Linked DNA regions of Homo sapiens: all the other regions are linked to region 2. The links are contacts of gene promoters, found by promoter capture Hi-C in human tissues and cell types (Jung and others, 2019). All regions are on one chromosome and are shown on one strand. Each heading gives the region's core, a stretch centred on a gene start or on the middle of the fragment in contact. The rest is flanking DNA. Distances are from core to core; before and after follow the strand shown. Region 1 overlaps POLA2 (DNA polymerase alpha 2, accessory subunit). Region 2 holds the start of FAU (FAU ubiquitin like and ribosomal protein S30 fusion). Region 3 overlaps DPF2 (double PHD fingers 2).

The links. The method cuts DNA at HindIII sites, captures the fragments that hold promoters and counts their contacts. A contact is called where the count stands out against the background at its distance.
Region 1: a fragment that was not itself captured here is called in contact with the fragment with the promoter of FAU in region 2 in 1 of the 25 tissues and cell types used here (dorsolateral prefrontal cortex).
Region 3: a contact is called between a fragment that was not itself captured here and the fragment with the promoter of FAU in region 2, in 1 of the 25 tissues and cell types used here (dorsolateral prefrontal cortex).

The regions. Positions count from the first base shown.
Region 1 is chr11:65,289,604-65,294,124 of GRCh38, reverse strand. It overlaps POLA2 (DNA polymerase alpha 2, accessory subunit), which reads right to left. Exons shown (of 18, transcript NM_002689.4): 13 at 4,253-4,326. It overlaps LOC105369344 (a long non-coding RNA gene), which reads left to right. Exons shown (of 3, transcript XR_007062727.1): 3 at 1-352. Among named protein-coding and RNA genes, the nearest start is that of CDC42EP2, 23 kb to the left of the region's middle. The HindIII fragment of the contact is 5,857 bases long and covers 1-4,456 here.
Region 2 is chr11:65,119,195-65,123,841 of GRCh38, reverse strand. FAU (FAU ubiquitin like and ribosomal protein S30 fusion) reads left to right here and starts at 1,708. Exons shown (of 5, transcript NM_001997.5): 1 at 1,708-1,752; 2 at 2,021-2,103; 3 at 2,198-2,342; 4 at 2,806-2,861; 5 at 3,036-3,212. The coding sequence starts at 2,029. The coding sequence ends at 3,161. MRPL49 (mitochondrial ribosomal protein L49) reads right to left here and starts at 1,521. Exons shown (of 4, transcript NM_004927.4): 1 at 1,418-1,521. The coding sequence starts at 1,495. RefSeq lists enhancers at 1,231-1,500, 1,661-1,750. The HindIII fragment of the contact is 8,684 bases long and covers 1-2,136 here.
Region 3 is chr11:65,349,030-65,352,592 of GRCh38, reverse strand. DPF2 (double PHD fingers 2) reads right to left here. Exons shown (of 11, transcript NM_006268.5): 11 at 1-910. The coding sequence ends at 834. Among named protein-coding and RNA genes, the nearest start is that of TIGD3, 3.9 kb to the left of the region's middle. The HindIII fragment of the contact is 5,512 bases long and covers 1-3,563 here.

The DNA of each region.
Region 1 (4,521 bases), core at 279-2,778, 170 kb before region 2:
GTGAGAAAAGTGAGTGCAGTTGAGTTAGAACAGCTGCGCAACAGGTGGGATGCCTCAGGCTGGAGGCAGAGCCCACCCCGAGGGAGGCAGCTCAGAACTGCACTCTGTTATGAACAGAGACGCTGTTTCCCATGGGACACTGGGAGTAAAGGACAGTTTGTTCTACTTCACACCCATCCATCTGGACAGGCTCCGATTGCCTGGGACACTTTCTTGTTGCTCTGTGTGGCTTTCTACTGAGAGGATGGAGACTATTTTTTGGCAGAAAAAGGGGCAAAGAAATGGAGATCTAGAAAGTCTAGAAAGACAAGGATGTGAATAAAGAATCACAGCCTCAGAGCCAGAGTTTAAACCACAGCTTGGACTCATTACACCTTCTAAGCAGGTGTAGCCTGCAGGCAGTAAACAGTGTCCCTGCCACACCTTGGTAGGGTGCATGGAGCTGGGGCATTTTTCCTAGGGAGAAGGCAGGCATACTAAAAAGACCCTGAGACTGCTTTTTTTTTTTTTTTTTTTGAGACAGAGCCTCACTCTGTCGCCCAGGCCGGAGTGCAGTGGCATGATGTGGGCTCACTGCAACCTCATCTCCTGGGTTCAAGTGATACTTGTGTCTCAGCCTCCCGAGTAGCTACAACTACAGGTGCACACCACCACACCCACCTAATTTTTGTATTTTTAGTACAGATAGGGTTTCACCATGTTGGCCAAGCTGGTCTCAAACTCCTGGCCTCAAGTGATCCACCGACCTTGGCCTCCCAAAGTGTTGGGATTACATGTGTGAGCCACCACACCTGGCCTGGCTTCGTATTTAGAAGATCCAGCTGAAACCCTCTGACTGACTGAACACTGGGCCATAATTACTGGACAACCGAGACACAGACATTTCCAGTGGGAGGCAGAAAAGCCCAAGCGGCCTCTCCCTGAGCCATCGCATCCCTCCCCTCTCACACATGGAAATAATGCCCTGAGTTTCTATTTCTCAGCAGGTTGTCATGCAAAAATGAAAGAAATATTTAACAGCAACAGTAAAAGCACAGATGACAGCAGATGTTTCCTTTGATGGAGCAGGAGAATCTCTAGGGTTACAACATACAAGTGAAGAAGAAAGTTGTAACTCTGGGGGCCAACTATTTATTTTTCCCAGCCACACAAAAGAGGAAGAAAGCCCCGTTTCCTTGGTTCCCTTAAGATGACCTTGGCAGAGGGGCCGTTTATAAATCAAATAGGCATAAGGTATTACTTTGCGGGCATGTTTAAAATCCACCAATAGCTCTCACTTCCATCTCTGTCTCTTGCTTAAAACATGTGGACTTCTCAGGCATACATACACTTTCACATGTGATAAAGGTGCTGGTGACAGCTGTCACCCTTATCACTGTTTGTGGTGTCCTCTCAGAGTGTGAACTGAGATGTCTATAACAGAAAATCAGAATCCTGAGACCAAAGGTGTTTGCATATTCATTATTGTCCCTTTGACACTGAGAAGCTCACTAGGGTGATCCAGTCCACCATTTGGGTGCCAGGGTCTGGTAAACAGGCCACAGGGTAACTTGAATGGGACAATCTGTGCTCCACATCTCAAGGGCTTGACATCTGTGATAAACACAAAGGACTGAGGTGCAGCTGGCTGCTCTCAAGGGACAAAATTGCCCTGTTTCAGTGTAGGCTTTGGAAGGGCAATAGTTAAGGAGGAAATAGCCTTCCTGCTCATGGTTAGAAAGCGCCTATAGAAGGAGGGATCAGAAAAACATCCCAACTATGCTCAGCATTGCACAACCTCGTACGTCACAGCGGGAGGGTCCTCCAGCTGCTCCCGCAAACAGGACGAGAACCGCGGGCTCTGCTCGCTTTCTCTGAGGTGCTTTCTCACTGGCTCTTTTTCTTTTTCTGAGATGGAGTCTTGCTGTGTCGCCCAGGCTGGAGTGCAGTGGTGCGATCTCGGCTCATTGCAACCTCTACCTCCTGGGTTCAAGCAATTCTGCCTCAGCCTCCCGAGTAGCTGAGACTACAAGCACCCACCACCACATCTGGCTAATTTTTGTATTTTTAGTAGAGATGGGGTTTCGCCGTGTTGGCCAGGTTGGTCTTGAATTCCTGACCTCAAGTGATCTGCCCGCCTCAGTCTCCTAAAGTGCTGGGATTATAGGCGTGAGCCCCGTGCTTAGCCTGGCTCTGACTTTTACTAATGATGACTCAGCTTAATGCTCTGCATTTCTGACCTCTCAGGAATACAAAGAAATTCTCTGCCCAAGAACTGTTTATATACTGTTTCTAGAAGGGTGGGGCAGCTCCCCCTGCCCTGTGGCACACACTGGCCATAGATGAAAGTGCCTGGTGGTGCTGGGCTCTCATCCCCAGTGTGACAATGCCTCATCTGTGCTTTATTTCTATCACTGCTGTCAATACCACACGGGGTAAGGAACCAAAAACAGAACCCGACCTCAAACTGAAAGCACCCAGCCAGTGTTAGGGCACTACAACACAGTCCCTGCCTATCCCCAAGGGCTGACAAAAGAACACAGCCCTGCTCCTGTGTTTTGGGGGTCTATCTCCTGAGGAGTTCCAACCACTCTCCAGGCCTGATGAACTTGACCAGGATCACAGCAAATCTGGGGAAGAGGGAAGGCACCTGCATCACCTTCATCTGAGGGAGGCAGGGGAGGAAAGGGCAGAACCAGACATGGTTGTCACTGGCACAACCCAAGTCTCTGATTCTGGGGTGAGTTGGGGGATGTTCTTTATTCCAGCTGTGACATCTACCATCCTGGCCCACACTGCTGGTACAAGAAGGTAATGTTACAACTTATTGATTCTGGGATCAGTTCTCATGGCTAAAAGGCGGAAGGTTAGACATCTTATTTTAAAAACCACCTTTGTGACAGACTCGTTTTTAAATGCTTAGCCTCAGGAATATTTGTATTTTATTAGCTCAGCTACAAGCATGCAGATCTTGTGAGGAGATCTACCACCTATACCAACTTCTTTCAAACCCTGGCACTGGGGAAAAGGGACAGGAATGGAGGATGTCAGATTTCTGAATAACTTTCCACTTCCGGCTTTAGCCTCTTCCTGGAACAGTGACTTTCCTCTCAAATGAGAACTGCACAGCTCTCTCATCACTGCTGTAACCTCTCACAGTTCCTTCCGTTTGGTCTATGGCAAGGATTCAAGGCCCCACCCTCACTGAGAGTTTCTATCACCACCAGCTGTAGCCACTGGCAGCTTCCCACGCACCCTGGGGAAGCACTGACTTGGGAGGAACTTGGGCTTACCCAATACAATCACTTACACAACAAGATGTTTGGGGTCTCACAGGATTTCACTGCGTAAGTCATCAAACACTTCTCAAAACCATCCTGGGAAGATTCCCGTGGAATATTAGTTTATACAAAAGGGAGTGAGAAAAGGAACTAAGTATAGAAGAGAAAGAGCAACCAAAGAGTGAGAGCCGATGCAGCCTTGTCAAGTATGTTTATCTTTGTGTTTTACAGAGATGCCTCTTAACTTGCACTTGAAGTTCAAGGGTTCTAGCTGATCTCGGTAGTTCAAAAGGAAGGAAAGAATAGGAACTGCCATGATTTTTTTTTGGAAAAGGAGTTTTGTTCTTGTTGCCCAGGCTGGAGTGCAATGGTGTGGTCTCGGCTCACTGCAACATCTGCCTCCTGGGTTCAAGAGATTCTCCTGCCTCAGCCTCCGCAGTAGTTGGGATTACAGGCATGTGCCACCACGCCCAGCTAATTTTGTAATTTTAGTAGAGATAGGGTTTCACCATATTGATCAGGCTGGTCTTGAACTCCTGACCTCAGGTGATCCGCCTGCTTTGGCCTCCCAAAGTGCGTGAGCCACCACGCCCAGCTTTTTTTTTTTTTTTTTTTTGAGATGGAGTTGCGCTCTTTTTGCCTAGGCTGGAGTGCAACGGCACGATCTTGGCTCACTGCAACCTCTGCCTCCCAGGTTCAAGTGATTCTCCTGCCTCAGCCTCCCAAGTAGCTGGGATTACAGGTGCCCACCGCCACGCCTGGCTAATTCTGTATTTTTAGTACAGACAGAGTTTTACCATATTGGCCAGGCTGGTCTCAAACTCCTGACCTCAGGTGATGTGCCCGCCTCGGCCTCCCAAAGTGCTGGGATTACAGGTGTGATCCACTGAGCCTGGCCCTGCCACGACTTTTAAGCAGTTTCAGTTTCTTAATGGGAAGCTCTGGAGAAACCTAAGAAGCTTAAGGTTCTGTCCAGTATTTTGAAATCTGACCTTCTTGTGCCTTCAATAATTGTTCGTAGACACTGCTTGAAAATGTCTTCAAATGGACTTGTCAGTAGACAATTCTGCAAGAAAGGAAAGGAGACAGATTTAGACGGCAGATGTTTGGTGTTTATTCACTTGTTTAACATTGTTAGGTGACCCATAGAAGTCAGCTGTTGGGCTAGGAGCTGAAGGAGACGCAAAGATGAAAAAGACATGGTCTTTGTCTTAAGGAGCTAAGTCTAGTCGAAGGGAGGAGAAGAGATGTGGGAATTAAC
Region 2 (4,647 bases), core at 459-2,958:
TGAACTGGCACCACCCATGTTATTCATCCTTGTAGCCAAGGATAACTGTCTCAAAACAATTATGTAATACTCATTTTTCCTTTCCTTTATTTATTTTTATTATTTTTTTAGATAGAGTCTCACTCTGTCACCTAGGCTGGAGTGCAGTGGTGTGATCTCGGCTCACTGCAACCTCCGCCTCCCAAGTTCAAGCAAGTCTCCTACCTCAGCCTCCCAAGTAGCTGGGACTACAGGCACACGCCATCACACCCGGCTAATTTTTGTATTTTTTCTAGAGACGGGTTTCACCATGTTGGCCAGGCTTGTCTCAAACTCCTGACTCCAGGTGATCTACGCGCCTTGGCCTCCCAAAGTGCTGGGATTACAGGCGTGAGCCACCGTGCCTGGCCCATTTTTCTGTTAAAAACCTTTGTCTTCTTTTACCTCCCTGATAAGCACATAGTCTATACCCATTCCCGAATAAATATCCTTTTCTTTTAGAGTCTGTTATTTAGGTTGACATAAGATAGCACCAGTCTTTGGTTTTCCATGGTGCAGGGTACAGATGGGATGGAAAGGAGGCTCAGGTACTCTGAATGGTCTGCCTCTCAGGATTTCTGTGGGATGCAAAAGAGTATATGTACACTTCTGAAAAGTCAATCAAGCCTTTAGAAACTTAAGGCTTAACTTTCTGTCTCGGTTTTAGAAATAGATATTATTATATTGGCAGCGTGGCCTTGTTTGTACCTCCATGATTGCCTGGCTGGCCTTGCTAACCTAATCACATCTGTGACGGGATATAGTGATGTTTAATCTTATGATTGCCTTAAGAATTAAGGCAATCAGACGGGTTCGGCGGCTCATGCCTGTAATCCCAGCACTTTGGGAGGCCGAGGCGGGCGGATCACGAGGTCAGAAGATCCAGTCCATCCTGGCTAACAAGGTGAAACCCCGTCTCTACTAAAAATACAAAAAATTAGCCGGGCATGGTGGCGGGAGCCTGTAGTCCCAGCTACTCGGGAGGCTGAGGCAGGAGGATGGCGTGAATCTGGGAGGCGGAGCTTGCAGTGGGCCGAGATCGCGCCACTGCCCTCCAGCCTGGGCGACAGAGCGAGACTCCGTCTCAAAAAAAAAAAAAAAAAGAATTAAGGCAATCATAATTCCCCACGCACACTCATATGCTAGGACCCCGCCCCTTACCTGAAACGTTGTGGCTTATATAGACACTGCCAGGCACTGTGTTAAGTGCTCCCAAAGAGCACCCCAGTCTACCATTTTCCCTCTCGATTCTATATGTACACTCGGGACAAGTTCTCCTGATCGAAAACGGCAAAACTAAGGCCCCAAGTAGGAATGCCTTAGTTTTCGGGGTTAACAATGATTAACACTGAGCCTCACACCCACGCGATGCCCTCAGCTCCTCGCTCAGCGCTCTCACCAACAGCCGTAGCCCGCAGCCCCGCTGGACACCGGTTCTCCATCCCCGCAGCGTAGCCCGGAACATGGTAGCTGCCATCTTTACCTGCTACGCCAGCCTTCTGTGCGCGCAACTGTCTGGTCCCGCCCCGTCCTGCGCGAGCTGCCTGCCCAGGCAGGTTCGCCGGTGCGAGCGTAAAGGGGCGGAGCTAGGACTGCCTTGGGCGGTACAAATAGCAGGGAACCGCGCGGTCGCTCAGCAGTGACGTGACACGCAGCCCACGGTCTGTACTGACGCGCCCTCGCTTCTTCCTCTTTCTCGACTCCATCTTCGCGGTAGCTGGGACCGCCGTTCAGGTAAGAATGGGGCCTTGGCTGGATCCGAAGGGCTTGTAGCAGGTTGGCTGCGGGGTCAGAAGGCGCGGGGGGAACCGAAGAACGGGGCCTGCTCCGTGGCCCTGCTCCAGTCCCTATCCGAACTCCTTGGGAGGCCTGGCCTTCCCCACGTGAGCCGCCGCGACCACCATCCCGTCGCGATCGTTTCTGGACCGCTTTCCACTCCCAAATCTCCTTTATCCCAGAGCATTTCTTGGCTTCTCTTACAAGCCGTCTTTTCTTTACTCAGTCGCCAATATGCAGCTCTTTGTCCGCGCCCAGGAGCTACACACCTTCGAGGTGACCGGCCAGGAAACGGTCGCCCAGATCAAGGTAAGGCTGCTTGGTGCGCCCTGGGTTCCATTTTCTTGTGCTCTTCACTCTCGCGGCCCGAGGGAACGCTTACGAGCCTTATCTTTCCCTGTAGGCTCATGTAGCCTCACTGGAGGGCATTGCCCCGGAAGATCAAGTCGTGCTCCTGGCAGGCGCGCCCCTGGAGGATGAGGCCACTCTGGGCCAGTGCGGGGTGGAGGCCCTGACTACCCTGGAAGTAGCAGGCCGCATGCTTGGAGGTGAGTGAGAGAGGAATGTTCTTTGAAGTACCGGTAAGCGTCTAGTGAGTGTGGGGTGCATAGTCCTGACAGCTGAGTGTCACACCTATGGTAATAGAGTACTTCTCACTGTCTTCAGTTCAGAGTGATTCTTCCTGTTTACATCCCTCATGTTGAACACAGACGTCCATGGGAGACTGAGCCAGAGTGTAGTTGTATTTCAGTCACATCACGAGATCCTAGTCTGGTTATCAGCTTCCACACTAAAATTAGGTCAGACCAGGGCCCCCAAAGTGCTCTATAAAATTAGAAGCTGGAAGATCCTGAAATGAAACTTAAGATTTCAAGGTCAAATATCTGCAACTTTGTTCTCATTACCTATTGGGCGCAGCTTCTCTTTAAAGGCTTGAATTGAGAAAAGAGGGGTTCTGCTGGGTGGCACCTTCTTGCTCTTACCTGCTGGTGCCTTCCTTTCCCACTACAGGTAAAGTCCATGGTTCCCTGGCCCGTGCTGGAAAAGTGAGAGGTCAGACTCCTAAGGTGAGTGAGAGTATTAGTGGTCATGGTGTTAGGACTTTTTTTCCTTTCACAGCTAAACCAAGTCCCTGGGCTCTTACTCGGTTTGCCTTCTCCCTCCCTGGAGATGAGCCTGAGGGAAGGGATGCTAGGTGTGGAAGACAGGAACCAGGGCCTGATTAACCTTCCCTTCTCCAGGTGGCCAAACAGGAGAAGAAGAAGAAGAAGACAGGTCGGGCTAAGCGGCGGATGCAGTACAACCGGCGCTTTGTCAACGTTGTGCCCACCTTTGGCAAGAAGAAGGGCCCCAATGCCAACTCTTAAGTCTTTTGTAATTCTGGCTTTCTCTAATAAAAAAGCCACTTAGTTCAGTCATCGCATTGTTTCATCTTTACTTGCAAGGCCTCAGGGAGAGGTGTGCTTCTCGGGTTGGTGGTATGTCCCCTAGGAGAACAGTGAGGCAGAAAAGGCAGAAGCCTTTGGTATGGGGGGAAGAAATGGTAAACTACAAGAGAAATTTCCTGTGAAGAAACAGCTACAGATCCTGGGGGGCTTCAGATGTAAAATTGGGGTTATTCCCTATCCTAAGTAACTTGATCAGTCCCCCCAGGTCATTCTTTTTCATCTTCTAAACAGAGAAGGTAGCAGGAATCACTGTGGTGAGAGGTTTGTTATGGAGGCAGCAATAGAAGGGATGGGTGGGGGAAGAGGTTTGTATAGAAGGTGAACCTGGCCGTTCCCTGAACTTGGTACCAGCTGTGGCCTTAGAGTCCAGGGCAGGAATCTGGTCTGCCTTGGTTTTAGAAGTAAATATTATGTTGGGAGCATGGCCTCGTTTGTACCTCTGTGACTGCCTGGCCGGACTTGGTAACCTAATCACATCTGTGATTGGATATAGTGAGGTTTCAGTGTTCCCAAAAGTTGGGTTACCTCTGGGGCTGATTCAGGGTTCTCTTCTGGCAACTGAGCCTCCCAGCACTTCTGAACCCCACTTACTCATTCAGCTAAAGTTTCTGGACCTGCCAGTTCTTGAGAAATAGCATCCAACAGGGTAAAGCCCTTGGGCTGTGGACTTTGACTGCCTGAGTTTGGACCTTCTTTTTCTTCCTACTCCATTTACTGGGTGGCTGGCCTTTGAACTAACTACTAATTTAATCTCTGCCATCTCCAGGGCTGCTGTGAGGGTTAAAGGATGTAAATCAACATCTGGCTTACAGTGAGTGTGTGAATCTTGGCTATTTTTGTCTCTGTGGTGTTAAAGACATGGTTTCTGCCTTCCAGCAGTTTAGAAAGGGGGAGGATGTGGACAGATACAATAGCATCCCAGAGAGGGCCTCTTTTTTTGTTTTTCTTTTTTCTTTATTTTATTTTATTGAGACAGAGTCTCGCACTGTCGCCAGGCTGGAGTGCAGTGGCACAATCCGAGCTCACTGCAACCTCAGCCTCCCGGGTTCACGCCATTCTCCTGCCTCAGCCCCCTGAGTAGCTGGGACTACAGGCATGTGCCACCACGCCCAGCTAATTTTTGTATTTTTAGTAGACATGGGGTTTCCCCATGTTGGCCAGGATGGTCTCGATCTCTTGACCTCGTGATCGCCCACCTCGGCCTCCCAAAGTACTGGGATTACAGCCATGAGCCACAGTGCCCGGCCTTTTCTTTTTTGTTTTTGAGACAAGGTCTCTCTCATCCAGGCTGGAGTGCAGTTGCACAATCATGGCTCACTGCAGCCGCCAACTCCTGGGCCCAGGTGATCCTACTCAGCCTCCAAAGTAGCTGAGGACTACAGGCATGCACCGCCACACCTGGCTA
Region 3 (3,563 bases), core at 1,062-3,561, 230 kb before region 2:
TTTTGTTGTGTTAAAAAACAGGCACATTATCCATCTCCTTGTGGCCCCCGAGCTGCTGGCCTGGCCCCCTGATCCTTCCCCTCTCCCCACAAAACCAAAAGGAGTAGGAAGGGAGGCAGAAGATGAGAAATTCCAAGGGTGGGGAATGCTTCAGTCACTGGAGACCGACCGTAAGAGTGAGCCAGGAGAGCAATGGGAATAACAAGGTGAAGCTACTGTTCCCCCTGGGGTGGGGTGGAATGGGACAGGGCAGAACCAGGAGGGTGACCGAGAACATCCTGACTCCAGAAAAGAACACTCTGTAGCAGGAACACAGGGCCGCAGAGAGCCACTCTGGAGGAAAGAGGTGAGGCTATGCGGCACAGGGGCATGAAAAGCTCCTTGTGGACGTGGCCTCAGCTTGCTCGCTCCCAGCTCCCTGGCCTGGCTTGCCTCTAGAGGACAGGAAAACTCTGGAGACCAGAGGGGAGGCAGAACACAGAGAAGTGAGCTGCTCTCCCACTCTTTCTAGGAGGACACTGTTTGAACCCTGTGATCACCAGGGGCTGGGCCCAAGGCAAGCAGAGTGAATGCACTTAATGGAGAGCAGAGAGAAACTGGGCCACACGCACGCCTAGGGGCAGTGTGTTGCTCCTTTCTCCCTGAGGGCCTGGGGCCAGAGGTGGTCAGAGCTGCCACCTCAGCTTGCAGCTGCCAAAGGCAGGCTGGCACAACCACCCCAAGGTTCTCTGGATTTGTGAAGGAGAGGAGGAAGAAGGGAAAGATGGGTATGAAATATGAAGTGGAGGAGAGAAACAGCCTTAGATATGTCGGGGAGCAGGTGGGTGGCCACATCAAGAGGAGTTCTGGTTCTGGTAGATGGAAGCTTTCTCTTTCAACAGGTCCAGACACAGGTGGCAGCTCCAACTTCCTGCAGAGAGGCAAAATGGGGTCAGGATGGGTCCCACACAATCCCCACCTGCTTGCAATTCCTCTGCTCTTGATACCCCATCTCTATAGCAGGATCAGCTACAGGTAGGACGAGGGATGCTCTGCAGCAGGAAAGTTCCATGGTTTCCTGAGCTGGGATAAACCTCTAAGTCTTCAAATATTATGAAATATCATCCTCTATGGAGATGAAAGAAATAATCATCTAGAGGACTTCAGAATACTGATGCCCAGGCCCTCTTGGCCCTATTAAATCAGAAGTTTTGGGAGTAGGAAGAGGGCCTGGGAAGACAGAAGTTTGTCAAGCACCTCAGTTTTAAGACTTGTGTAGTTTCACTAAAAAACACAAAATAATTGTCCCTTATATGAAAAACAATTGGGTCATTCCTTGTTTATTAATATTGACTATGGCTGAATTCTTCTAATTTTTTTTGAATAAAATTAGTCCTTAATGCCTTGAAATGATAAGCAAAATTATACCTATGCGCATTTGGACATTATTCTAGGGCTTTTATCAGCTCTTCAGAAACAGGTGACTCAAAAATGTAAGTCCTTTCTAACCCAAAGGTCAATACGGTTGGCAAAGTTTTCTGTAAAGAGCCAGAGTGTTAAATATTTTAGGGTGTGTGAGCCACATACAGTCTCATGCATTTTTTTTTTAACTCCCTTTATTTTTTTTTTTTCTGAGACAAGAGTTTCCGCTCTGTTGCTCAGGCTGGAGTACAGCAGTGTGATCTCAGCTTACTCTAACCTCTGCCTCCCAGATTCAAGCAATTCTCTTGCCTCAGCCTCTATAGTAGCTGAGATTACAAGCGCACAGCACCACGCCCAGCTAATTTCTCTATTTTTAGTAAAGATGGGGTTTTGCCATGCTGCCCAGGCTGGTCTTGAACCCCTGGGCTCAAGAGATCCCAAAGTGCTGGGATTACAGATGCGAGCCACAGTGCACAGCCAGTTTTTATATTTTTAAGGGGATTTTCTTCAGGCTAGATGCAGTGGTTCACACCTGTAATCCCAGCACTTTGGGAAGCTGAGGTGGGTGGATCACTTGAGCCCAGGAGTTCGAGACCAGCCTGGGCACCATGGCAAAACCCCGTCTCTACTAAAAATACAAAAATTAGCCGGGTGTGGTGGCATGCCTGTAGTCCCAGGTACTCAGGAGGCTGAGGTGGGAGGATTACCAGATTACCTGAGCCCGGGGAAGCAGAGGTTGCAGTGAGCTGAGATCATGCCACTCCACTCCAACATGGGCAACAGAACAAGACACTGTCTCAAAAAAAAAAAAAAAAAAGAAAGAAAGAAAAAGAAAAAGAGAAAAGAAAAGAAAACAAAACAGCTTGCAAGCTATTTAAGCTGGCTGTGGCTGGATGTGGTCCATAGGTTTTAGCTTGTAGCTTGCTGACCCTGACCTAGAACATCTGATACTTCTAGGGGTTGCCCCTCAGCTGCCTTAACACTACAGTGAGGACACTCGGGCCTGCAGCTCTCCACTACCTCGATGTCCCACAGAACTTTAATAGGAAAGCCATTCTGTAACATAGATCATCTGTTTGATGGTTTAAAAAAACAAAACAAAACAAAACATAAACATGCGACTTCTCCCCAAAGCAGATTCATAAACTGGGCCTGACAGAAGCTGAGTACTCCCCTACAGCTGCTAAAGGACTCTTAGACATTGTCAGGGGCCTCATTCTCTAGAGGGGTGACAGCAGTTTGACCGATATGTTACAAGTCAGCTTACATCACACAATGAAACACTTTCTCTTGCCTGTAATGCTGGCCCACATCCTTTGTGCACAGTAACAGCTCCTGGGCATTTGTGTTCTGAGTAAGCTACTGAATTTCTGTTGGCTTTTTTTTTTTTTTCTTTGAGATGGAGTCTCGCTCTGTCGCCCAGGCTGGAGTGCAGTGGTGCGATCTCGGTTCACTGCAAGCTCCGCTTCCCGGGTTCACGCCATTCTCCTGCCTCAGCCTCCTGAGTAGCTGGGACTACAGGCGCCCGCCACCACAGCCGGCTAATTTTTTTGTATTTTTAGTAGAGACGGGGTTTCACCGTGTTAGCCAGGATGGTCTCCATGTCCTGACCTCGTGATCCGCCCACCTCGGCCTCCCAAAGTGCTGGGATTACAGGCTTGAGCCACCGCGCCCAGCTGCTACTCAATTTCTGTACAGGAGGTGTTTATGTACAGAAATCCAGCTGGAAGGGGACTTGTGGAGATGCAACCAATTCTTGGTGCCACCACTGGTTTCAGTGAATAGCTTTAATAAATTTGGACCATTATTACAGTAAGTTATCGGAGAAGCAGACTGACCCATTCAGGCTCCAAAGTCAAGTCCCTTCCCAGTTCAGAAGGGGAAGGGATAGGAAATAAATGCTCAAATCTATCAAATTTCAAGAGTTGACTGCAGAAGTTTCACATCAGATAATCTACCACTTGAGTTTTCTGGACTGGTTGGAAGAAAATAAATCATTCCTTCTGGGTGCCTGATCTCGGCTCAGCATCTGCTTTCTTCTGGGCTGTTGATTTTCTGTTGTAAATGTAGCTGATAATGTGCAAACACTAAACCCTTTAAGTTGAAATGTTAGGAAGGCATTCTAAACTGAGCCAAGGCAAGGTGCTTTACTCCCTAATTTG